2 separate regions of the Homo sapiens genome follow, and region 1 is linked to region 2. Evidence: promoter capture Hi-C in 16 types of primary human blood cells and fetal thymus (Javierre and others, 2016). All regions are on one chromosome and are shown on one strand. The core of a region is centred on a gene start or on the middle of the fragment in contact, and the rest is flanking DNA. Distances in the headings are between cores, read along the strand shown.

Region 1 (5,840 bases), core at 1-2,500, 4.2 Mb after region 2:
CTGGAGGCGAAAAGCGGGGAGCGGAGGGGGGCCGCTGGAGCCGAGTAGCGTACAGAGCGGCGTGTGACGCGGGGACGCCGCGTGCTCCCAACGTCGCCCCGGTTTGACGCACACGGCACCAAACTGTGAGTTTCAGGGGTTATTTGGTCAGATTCGCTGGGACCCGAGTGGGTTTCGGGCCTCTGGGCTGTGGCAGCGGCGGGACTGAGGGTGGCGGAAGAACTTGGGGGACCCGGCCTCCGGCTCTCGGGCCCGGGGAGCTACGCCCTAGGCTGGGTCCCAGCCATCCAAAAGGACGCATTTTGCCGCACAGGCTAAGATGGCGGCGGCGGCCGAGGAGGCGGAGTTGGTGCTACACAAGGAGCCCGGGCCCCGGGTTCGGGGAGGCGGCGGCCGCGGCGGTCGCTGGGGGCCACGGAGCCTGAGGTGAGCGGCGGCCGCCGCCGCGGGGCGGGACTCGGCGGGGGGATGGGGGGGGGGCTTTCCGCTGCGGCGTCGGAGGATCCGGTAGCGGACACAAAGGGGCTGAGCTGGGCACTAGACTTGGGGGTTTTGTTTAGTCACATGAAGCCGAGCAGCCAGTGAGCAGTAGGGGGAAGGGGCCGAGATCAGGCGGCTTGGGGAGCCTGGCGGTCGCCATTGCAATGCACTGAGTAACGGGGCGGGCCGAGAGCAGTCACCAACCCCTCTCGTTGAGGCTGCTCGGTTGTGGCCAGAAACGCTGGCTCTGGCATTAACTGTCTACACCCCTCCCCTTACTTGGGACAGGACCGCATAGCCCTCCCCTCCCCCCGTCCTGCAAGATCTTATGCGGCTAGGTGCCTGGGAAGTAACAGCAAGAGGTAAATCGCTCGAAGTGTTTGGGTTGCCAGGGGCTTGGTGGGTGTCCAGCTAAAGCTTTTTGCCTCTCCAGGTCTGATTCTCTGGCCTTTGTGTCCCTGGGAAGTTACTCTGCCAGAGGAAAGCAGGTGTGCTCCACTTCTCCCGTGAACCTGAAGATGAGTTGTCCCAGACTCTTCTCAGTGATTGGAAACTTAGGTGGTGGAGCTAAAGGTTACTTGTTACGAGACTTCTACAGACAACTCTTGTTGGGATCCATCTATGGTTTAGCAACATTAGTGGAAAAGTTTTCTTGAATATTGACTTTGAATATAAAAACGTTTATATTTAGACTTCAGATTTTGTGTGATCATCAAACTCAACGAGGGGATAAACATAATTGGGGGCGAATGATGGTCTTGTCTTGTTAATAATTTCAACAGAAGTATCACAACACCGCCGACTATCCTGTCCAGTCCTAATTCCACGCTTGTTGCATCTGGATGGTAGATTTGTTTTAATTGTGTATTCCCTCCCTGCAGTAGTTTGCTTTAGTTGTAAACATTTTTTGGTCCCATGAGAAGGAAAACATTTCAAAAAATAGACAACTAAAGTTTCTCAAAGAAAGGAAACCTGGCTGTTTGCCTTCAGTTGCATGTGTAAGTATCTAGGGAACTTGATGGCAGTAATATTGCATTTTGGTAGGCTTGCTAAGAAAAACCTCGTTTTTATAATAAGGCTATAATCTAGCTTAGACATTTTAATTGGTGAAGCATAAAGCTTGATTAGTATTAATGCAGTGGTATGTATTGCTTTTAAAAGTCTTACAATTTCTAACAAATTAAAGTTATACTGCAATTATATCATACTTTGTGTTGGTATTAACTCATGAAGTACAAAATTTTGAAACACCTAATGTTTTGTGTTGGCAATTAACAGAATTCCTTGGTTGGAGGGATATTTAAACACATTAGATCACTGTGTAGATCTCTGTGTTCAAACTGAAATTTGAATTTTTCAACATTAGTTAACTTTCATTTCCTTGTTCTTTTCAGATATATATTTTCTCTTTTTTTAGCTTCTAATACAGAACAGTCTTGTATTAATGAATAGGAGATGCATTAACATTAGCAAATGTATTCCTGGATCATAAAGTTTTACAGTGGAAGCAATATCAAAGAACAACTGCTCTTACCCTCCTCTTTTACAATATATTGAGGACCAGAGATGATTAAGTTAGTGGCATAATGGAAAATTGCCTTTCAGCCTCTACCCATTGCTGTTTGTATTTGTCATATTGCTGGGATGAGAAGGTGAATATCTACAACTAATGGTTAAAAAAACAAGGGAATGTTATTGAGAATACTTGTTAATTAAATATTGTTAGGTTCATGAGAACTTCTGTGACAATAAGTTAAAAACTTTCATATTGGCCTGGCACGGTGGCTCACGCCTGTAATCCCAGCACTTTGGGAGGCTGAGGCGAGCAGATCACGAGGTCAAGAGATCGAGACCATCCTGGCTAACATGGTGAAACCCCGTCTCTACTAAAAATGTAAAAATTTCCTGGGCGTGGTGGTGCCTATAGTCCCACCTACTCGGGAGGCTGAGGCAGGAGAATCACTTGAACCCGGAAGGCAGAGGTTGCAGAGAGCTGAGATCGTGGCACTGCACTCCAGTCTGGTGACACAGCAAGACTACATCTCAAAACAAAAAAACAAAAAAACTTTCATATTCTGTGGTTAACTTGGTTTTTAAAGTGACTTTCAGTGAAACAAAATCAGGTACAAAATACAGAAATATCAGATAGTTTCAGAGCAATGTTGCTTTTGAATTTTAAGGTTTTCCAAATGCAGTCTTGACCCAGAAATTGAAAAATTAAAAAACAACAACCAGGGACTTGATAAATTTCTTTGAAAGTTTGAAATAACTGCTGTTATTGCCAGTTATTATGTAGGAAAAGAAATGAGATCAATGCTGAAAATAATGGTGTCTTTCATTTTGTAATAGTGTTTTGGTTGGATAAACGAATGTGCCACTCAGAATGTTCCCTTTCTTTAAAACAACTTTTTAAGACTACTACTTCTACTGAGTGGTACCTCTAAGGTCTGTTAGGAAATTGAACAAGTAGTGACAGTCATTTATGGTGGAACCCTATAGTGATTTTTAACTTCTTTGAATGTCAGATTTAGCAAAAAGTTAAATTGTTTTAAGGTTTTAAAAGTTTTTATGGGTCATATAAGGTGCTTTTAAATTACTGATTTTTGTTAGTTGATAAGCTGTTTTATAATTTTCAACATTATGTGAGTGGATTTACTTACACTTTCATTTTGTGAAAATTAGAGTCACTTTCAGGTTATTTGTAGTTATAAAGTGGTCTGTCACCTGCCAACCTTAAACATTTTCCAGTTTTAGTTTGTCATTCAAGTTATAAGAGTGTTTTGGTTGAATTGAGACTGTTAATGGGTAGCAGGAGGAGAAAAGAAAGTTTCAAAGAGAATAGAAGTGGTGGGATATCTGCAATCTAGAGAAAGGTCAGGTCCATTTTTTTTCTGTCATCCTAAATATTGTTTTTTAGTGTTACTTATTTAGACCATTTTCTCAGGATGTGATTCTGGAAGGAAAAGTGAATCTTATTCTTGGGAAGGCTTTTCAGTCAGGTCTTAAGACAATTGTAGCTTGCAGCAAATGGAGAAATTGGCATGTTGAGTTATCTAACCCTGATTTTATAGAGCACTTGTTTTAACCATTTTTTAAACTGTTTTCTAAATGTTTTAAATTAGTAACCTTGTAAAATAAAACGAGAATGAAGAGTGGATACTGTAATACTATGGATACATATTCAAATGAGCTTTTATTTACACTTATTAATCTTTCTGGTAGAGAGAATGTCTATTTCGTATATGGAGAATCTGTAAATATTGAGTAAAGTTGTCAGGTATAGCATTGACTGAAGCAGTTCTAGAAGTGGTGTTTTTGATTCAGGTTTATTAGAGGGAAATAAATAGCTGCTGTTAATAGTGCAAGCCGTTTACACCATTGAGTTTTGGGAGATTTGAGAATCATGGAACTGATGCTAGCACTAGCTCACCCTGCTGGTTGGCTAAAAGATTTCTCCTCTTCCCCTTAAGAAACAAACATGAAGATCACAGGAGACCCAGAGGGTAGTAAGACTCTAAATTAAATTCTGTCTTTCTTCAGGGAGAGGAAGTTCCCATGAAAAAGGTGTTTTCTTGTCTCTAAGGCCTTAGTTGCTGCATTATAATTTTTTTTGCAGATCTGCCAAGTTGAACCATGGAGTTACTATCCTTTCTTTTTCTTTCTTTTTGGTTGGGGGACGGAGTCTCGGTCTGTTTCCCAGGCGCGGGTGCAGTGGTGCAATCTTGGCTCACTGCAACCTCTGCCTCTCAGGTTCAAGTGATTCTCCTGTCTCAGCCTCTCAAGTAGCTGGGATTACGGGCGCCGGCCACCACACCTGGCTAATGTTTGTATTTTTAGTAGAGATGGGGTTTCATCATGTTGGCCAGGCTGGTCTCGAACTCCTGACCTCAGGTGATTCACCCGCCTTGGCCTCCCAAAGTGCTGGGATTACAGGCGTGAGCCACCGCACCTGGCAGTAGTTACTATCCTTTTTGAACTTCCTGGGAACTCTTATGTGATTATGGAAAGTTAGTATATTTTTATTCTTTTAATTTCAAGATAAGAAATCCTTTGACAATTGAGAGATGTTAGGAAGAAAAACAGCCCTGTGAGAGTAACTTTCCAGGAGGAAAAAAGCAGAGGATTTCAAGAGTAAGAGGAGGAGGAGCCTGCCAGGGCAGAAGTAGCAGCAGTGCACACTTCTCTTGGTTGGGAGAAAGTGAGACTGGATTAAGATTAGCGTTTCTGGGAGATTTTCTTTCCCCTCTCCTACTAATCTTGGCCCTACCTCTTCTGTCTGCTAGCTGTGGTCTTCCCATTTCATTTGGAATCCTTTGAACTGAGATTTTGTAAGTAAAAATAAAGATAAATGATTTGTTCCTTGAAGCTTAATTCTGTTAGCCTAGATTTTGGTAGAATTGAAGCTGGGTTAGAGTGATGAAGGCAGATTTTATGTGTTAAGCCTTTTGGTATGTGTATCTTTTTTTTAAGTTGAAAATACAGCTTTTAAAATACTTTATATAGGCCGGGTGTGGAGGCTCACACCTGTAATCCCAGCACTTTGGGAGGCCAAGGTGGGTGGATCACTTGAGGTCAGGAGTTTGAGACCAGCCTGGTCAACATGATGAAACCCTGTCTCTACCAAAAATACAAAAATTAGCTGGGCATGGTGGCACGTGCCTGTAGTCCCAGCTACTTGGGAGGCCGAGGCAGGAGAATCACTTGAACCCAGGAGGCAGAGGCTTCAGTGAGCAGAGATGCCGTGCCACTGCACTCTAGCCTGGGTGACAGAGTGAGACCCTGTCTCAAATAAAAAAGACTTTGTTCAAACTCTAGAAACGTAAGTATATTTTGAGCCAAATAGACAACTGAAAATTAAAAATACCTAATAAAGTGTTGATTAAAATTCTTTACACTTTACAAAGCATGTTTACCTGTAGTCTATCAATTATTTTATCTAATTTTTTGAAAAGATTAATATTTTACTTAAAAGTATCTCTTTCATTAGTTTCTTGAGGAAGATATTAAATACAGTCATGTGCAGCATAATGATGTTCTTTGGTCAATAGTGGACTGCATTTACGATGGTGGTCCCATAAGATTGTAATACTGTATTTTTACTGTATTTTATGTTCTATGTTTAGATACACAAATACTAAACAGTTATGTTACAGTTGTGTGTGGTATTCAGTACAATAACATGCTTTACAGGAGCATGTTGTAGCCTAGGAACAATAGGCTATACCAAGTAGCCTAGGTGTGTAAGTAGGCTCTACCATCTAGGTTTGTTTGAGTACACTTTGTGATGTTTGCACAGTGACCAAATTGCCTAAGAATGCATCTCTCAGAATGTACATCCATGCTTAAGTGATGTATGACTG
Region 2 (6,097 bases), core at 3,547-6,046:
GTTGTTTCTAACCAAATCATTCTGTCTTATAGTAAGTGTATCATTTTCATACCTAAAACACAAACTGAAACAGGTTTCAAACCTTATGCTTCCTTACAAACATCAGAAAGTAAGCTCCTAAACACATTCCAAACAGAAATTCAAACTAGAGAAACTTAAACTTTTAGAACTCCAAATTCACACTAATGCTATTTTTAAGGTTTCATTCTACTTAATAAAATACAACACACAACAGAAACTCTATAAATGCAGTCAAATAACAGAAGACATTTTTAAAAAAAGGTAAAATTTAAGAGAATGGGTTTTTCAGGATTCACTAAGAGCCCATTAAGAAATTGTTTACATACCATATACATCTGACCTTCCCTACACTTGTGTTTTTTTTCTTTGCAATTGTTATATATCCTCAAGATACAACTTTGAAGAAAACCACCAAGAAACCTTCAGCACCCTCTCATACTTGGTAAGACAAGACTGTCTCCTCTTGCTCCCAGGCAGCTCCCAGGCAAGCATACACCAGTGCTTGTTTTATGCTTCAGTTGGATTTTTACATAAGTTTCAATGTAGCTTCAGAAGAAAAAAAAAAAAACTAAAAATAAATGAAGCTAAAAGTAGCAATCTCATCGGTTTTATAGAAGTCAGCTCAATACTGACAATCAGCATAAAACCGAGCTGAGCAGATTTAGAGGGGTCAATGTGTGACAGTCATGATTCATTTTATAAGAAGGCCCAAACTAATTTGAACATTAGTGTTGCTAAAATACAAAAATTCACTCTGCAGCTTCTGTGAAAACCTATTACATGATATTGGGTTCTCCCATCTTACAACTTTTTTATCTGTAAGATTCTTTCCAGAAGCACAACTCCCACATATAACGAACATTGACTATGGCCACATAATCTGTGTCACTCAATTTCCTCATCAGGAAAATGGTGATACAATACCAATCTCACGCCTCTCATAGATCCACACATACATGCACAAACACTCCCCTTTGGGATTGTTCTGAACATAAGTTGGCTCACACTCATATCTTTTCTCTGGGTGCTCATTATCGCTCTTTCTGCACAAGTATTTCCTTGCTTTCCAAGAACTATTTTCCTGATGCAACAGCCCCATCTCTCTATTAAGGAGCATGATGCAGTGCAAAGGCCCATACACCTGGAGCCTGGTGGTTATTTAACCAGTCTGAGTATCAGTTATCTTCTCTGTGAAGTAAGACCAATAGTACCCCTCATCAAGTAAGATGCATTTCAAGTATCACGTACATGGCAGGTCACCCCATCAAATCTGGCACCTGGACTGACTACAATGCATACAGAAAAACAGAATATCCCTAATGTGGTCTATCCACAGCCCTCCCTTGTAGATGGGAGTGTAGGGACTTACTTAATTTGCACCCCTAAGAGATGGTTATGCCTCTTACTAGAAGCTTACTATAACCATTGTAAAGAGATCAAAAGGCAGATAAAATCCCCTGAAATTCTCAGCATAAAATTAGTCCAGCTAAATGGAATCCAATTATTTAGCTTCTTCAATCTTACGGCCTTAATAGTTGATCCTTGGGTTAGCAGTCTGAGTCTTGCTGGGTTATCTTGTTACCAGGAATGCAATTCCTCTGCAACATTCTCCTGATTCCAGTGGCAAAAGGGAGAACCTTATTTGGGGGAGGCCAGAAAAGAACTAGTGTTTAGAGTGTTCTGGTATCAAGTGTGTATCCTCCAACCCAAACTGACAGTGATGGTGAGTGGTAGCCAGCAGTCTGCTGCATGTTTACTGTGGTCTGTTAAAGAAGTCCTTACTTTGTAAAAAGATGTTACGAAAATCATGGGAAAAAAAAAAAAGGCCTTTACCTTACCCCCTTAATTCCCACTTGTGAACATCAAACATCCCCATTTCAATCACTGAATTATTCTACCTCTCAGCAACAAAATGTCCTAAGTTGTTACACTGAATTCTTTTATAATTCAATTACTTATTGATGCCAGAACATGGAATTAAACTAATTAGGAGGCATGGCTTGAAAGTCATGCTCAATTTAACAGCAGATAAAGGGTTCACAGTGTTCTCAAGATTAAGAAACTGTTTTCTTTCTATGCTTACATTTTTGGGTTTTCTCTGACCCTTCAGCAGTGTTTTATGCTCAGCTGTGTACTAATGACCCAGACCATTACCAGTTCTTTAAGGTGTGATGGGAAATTGCAGGTTCATTTTTCCAGGATATTCCCAACTGAGCCATAATAAAGGAATTTAGGAAAACTGATGATCTCTTCAAATAGCTGCCTCAGGCAGAAGTAATTATCAATAAAGAGAACAGTGGAGACAGAGAGGGAGATGGTGAAGAATTATCCAATCAGAAGAGGGATGACAAGAAAACACTAAAAGTGAGTAAACCCCTTCATATGGATTTTAAACAATTGTTTCAAAAGATACAAGTCAGGCTGGGCACTAAAAAGAAAGCAACTCCATTACACTAATAGGTGCATAGTGCCTGGAACATAACAGTGCCCAATGAGTGGATGTGAGTGGATGAATGCAAGAAGGAATAAATGGAAGTCAACTCCCTGTCCTTCAGTGAATAACACACCCAATGGATATCATGAAGGATCTTAATCTTAAATGGTTTTCTCACAACATCCAGCCCATTTTTAGACTACTTTTTTTTTTTTTTTCTGAGACAGAGTTTCACTCTTGTTACCCAGGCTGCAGTGCAATGAATGGTGAGATCTTGGCTCACTGCAACCTCCGCCTCCCGGGTTCAAGTGATTCTCCTGCCTCAGCCTCCCGAGTAGCAAGGATCACAGGCGTGTGCCACCATGCCCAGCTAATTTTTGTATTTTTAGTAGAGATGGGGTTTCGCCATGTTGGCCAGGCTGGTCTTGAACTCCTGACCTCAGGTGATCTGCCCGCCTCGGCCTCCCAAAGTGCTGGGATTACAGGCATGAGCCACGCGCCAGGCCTAGACTACCTTCTTAAAGGTTAACCAATTTATGGTCAGAAAGCCAATTTTAATGGTAGCTACAATATAACATTAGAACGATAAATCTCATGCCCCAAACATGTACATAATGTATCTGAAAGCTAAGTGAAAACTGAGTCACTTTCTCATACATGGCAGTGTTTTTTCTTTTTTTTTTATTCAATAGAAGCCACATACAGGGACAGTAAGTTTCACCTATCATCAAAAAATAGTCAAAAGAACCTCTCTACACTGTAAGCTCCTAGAGGCCATGGGTAGCGGTGTCTCTGAAACCCTGACAAAGTCTGTAGGCAGCAGGGATTCAATAAATGTGGGCTAAATGACTAATAAAGCCCTCAAGAGCTTGTTTAAAAAAAAGTATCAGAAGGCCAGGCACCTGTGGCTCACGCCTGTAATCCCAGCACCTTGGGAGGCCGAGACGCGCGGATCACGAGGTCAGGAGATTGAGACCAGCCTGGCCAACATGGTGAAACCCCGTCTCTACTAAAAATACAAAAAATTAGCCAGTCATGGTGGCAGGCGCCTGTAGTGCCAGCTACTCGGGAGGCTGAGGCAGGAGAATGGTGTGAACCCAGGAGGTGGAGCTTGCAGTGAGCCGAGATCGCGCCACTGCACTCCAGCCTGGGGGACAGAACAAGACTCTGTCTCAAAAAAAAAAAAAAAAAAAAAAAAAGGCCGGGCGCAGTGGCTCACGCCTGTAATCCCAGCACTTTCGGAGGCCGAGGCGGGCGGACCACGAGGTCCGGAGATCGAGACCATCCTGGCTAACACGGTGAAACCCTGTCTCTACTAAAAAAAAAAATACAAAAAATTAGCCGGGCGTGGTGGTGGGCGCCTGTAGTCCCAGCTACTCGGGAGGCTGAGGCAGGAGAATGGCGTGAACCCGGGAGGCGGAGGTTGCAGTGACCCGAGATCGCGCCACTGCACTCCAGCCTAGGCGACAAAGCAAGACTCCGTCTTAAAAAATAAAAAATAAATAAAATAAAATAAATAAAATTCAGCCAGGCATGGTGGCACGCGCCTGTGATCCCAGCTACTCGGGAGGCGGAGGCTGCAGTGAGTCCAGATGGATCCACTGCACTCCAGCCAGGGCAACAAGAGAGACTCCACCTAAAAAAAAAAAAGTATCAGAAAAGCAATCAACTTGGAAATAGAATGCAGATAAAGTTGAGGTTGAGCACTGGATAAATGAAAAAGTTCAGTCAACAAACATTTACCTACTACCTACCAGGTGCCTGGAGTCATTACCAAACAGACCCTGCCCTCCTGCAACTTAAGACCTACAAATACCCGTGTAGAGTTAGAACCGGGGAGTGCTCTCGGGGGGGCCTAGGGCATAGTGCTTAGGAAGGACACAGAACAACGAGGGGGCGTCAGCACAGGCTTCTTTATAGGGTGAGATCTGAGGGGTGGGAGGCTGGGGGAGGGCCTGGGGGTGCGCACGCAGGGGCCCCCGGCTCCGGGAGCGGGACCGGCGGCAGAGGCCCCAGTGGGCCGCGCCGCTCTCTTAGTGTTTCTGGGGTCGCCTCACACTCCCGCCCGCTGCGACACCACTCCGGCCTCCGGGCGTGTCATTCCATCATTCAACTAACCCGGTCCCCATACGTGGGCCCAGGCGGGGTGCCCAGGCTCCGTGGTGGGGAGGAGACGCAAAGCGAACGCGGGTGGCCCCTGAGGGCGCCCTGTCCCTCCCGCGCGCGGGTAGTCACCTGAGCGGCTCAGCACCTCCCACTCGTGGGGCCTGCAGAAAATCGCGGCCAGGACCGAGAGCTCCTCCTGCACAGGCTCCGCCATGGCTGTGGGCCCCACCGCCTCAGCGCTTCCCCTTCCGCTGCCGCAGCCGCCGCCTCCACCGGCCAGGAGCAGCACTGCCCGCGGCCACCCGGGGGCGCCCCGCGCCTCCGCAACCGGGCGGGACGGGGGCGGGGCGAGACGGAGCTGGGGCGAAGCGAAACGGGACGTGGGCGAGGCGAGTCCGGGCGAGGGTCAGGGCAGACGGGGCGGGCGGGGCCCTTAGAAGTTCCGCCCAGAAGCTCCTGCTCAGTAACTACAGACGCGAAGCTCAGCCTCTCGGTTTGGGAATTTTCTTGGAGGCCGAGGCCCTGCGCCTCTGTCTGCACCCAAGGCGACCGCCCAGCTTACCCCCGGCTCTTCTGAGCACAGGGAGGCCTCCCAGCAAAGCCTGAACCCTCTAAGTTTAGCTGCAGGCTTCGAACCCCGACCGTCCCCGCCGAGCCTTGGGCTGCTGAGGTGGGGATGAACTGGGCGAAAGACACTTGGGAGTTAGGAAGAAACAAACAAGCAGGGAAGTGACCAGGAGACAAGGTGAGACTTTGCCCGGCTCAGGTCTGAACTGAGTGTTGGAGATAACCACAGTTAACAAAATAAACAAAATTATTCGCCCCCGTGGAGCTGTTAGCAACCCTGGTGCCTGGGAAGCCTGGAAGAGGCTCGGGTTAGTAACAACCTCCAGGATGCCCTCCGAACTGGTACTGGCGCCGGGACTCTAGACAAGGTCCAGATTCCCGGGCCCTTCCCCTTACGGGTGCAAAAAGGGAGGGTCAGGACCTGCCAGTCCTGGCTTCAGGATGTTGACTGGACGGACCTGGACTCATGGGAACTGTGCGCCAAAGTCCTGGGAGCAAAGTGTCATAACGCTCCTCGTTTGTCTCTTGCCTTCACAGGAGACAGCCCTGCTGCAAGCGGCCAGTGGGAATCCTTGGCCTTTGGGGGTATGATCCAAGAATGTAAACGCTAGCTTTTCAGTGTTTTCGATTTCGTGATATTCAATGCATACAATACAATGTGACTCTTGAAGCTTAATAATAAAATTATCATTCTTGAGCCCAGCACCTAAATTTTAAAATGTGAGCAATACCAATAGGGTAACAGAATAAGCAATCCATTCTGTTTTGACTATAGTGAACAAGATTACAAGACTTATCTGCAGTTAGGTCTGTCTCTCGGATGTTTGCCTGGTCTTTTTGCTGTTCAAATAACAGTTTAAAATTTGGCAGTCCCCACAAGCAGCTGGTCTTGCTCATGGAGTTCTCACAACTTTTGTTTGTATGAGAAATCACATTTCATGAGATAAATCTGGGAATTTAGGTTGTTAG

The links. The method cuts DNA at HindIII sites, captures the fragments that hold promoters and counts their contacts. A CHiCAGO score of 5 or more calls a contact.
Region 1: a contact is called between a fragment that was not itself captured here and the fragment with the promoter of RWDD3 in region 2, in 3 of 17 cell types (naive CD8 T cells, non-activated CD4 T cells and naive CD4 T cells). The highest score is 7.3, in naive CD8 T cells.

What each region holds. Positions count from the first base shown.
Region 1 is chr1:91,016,275-91,022,114 of GRCh38, reverse strand. It overlaps ZNF644 (zinc finger protein 644), which reads left to right and starts at 80. Exons shown (of 6, transcript NM_201269.3): 1 at 80-125. RefSeq lists silencers at 1-90, 421-490 and enhancers at 1-273, 274-823. The HindIII fragment of the contact is 702 bases long and covers 900-1,601 here.
Region 2 is chr1:95,232,909-95,239,005 of GRCh38, reverse strand. It overlaps RWDD3 (RWD domain containing 3), which reads right to left and starts at 4,796. Exons shown (of 4, transcript NM_015485.5): 1 at 4,691-4,796. The coding sequence starts at 4,775. The region is part of intron 7 of TLCD4-RWDD3 (TLCD4-RWDD3 readthrough); the gene reads right to left. RWDD3-DT (RWDD3 divergent transcript) reads left to right here and starts at 5,024. Exons shown (of 4, transcript NR_125949.1): 1 at 5,024-5,306. RefSeq lists silencers at 4,336-4,515, 4,726-5,055. The HindIII fragment of the contact is 4,366 bases long and covers 1,436-5,801 here.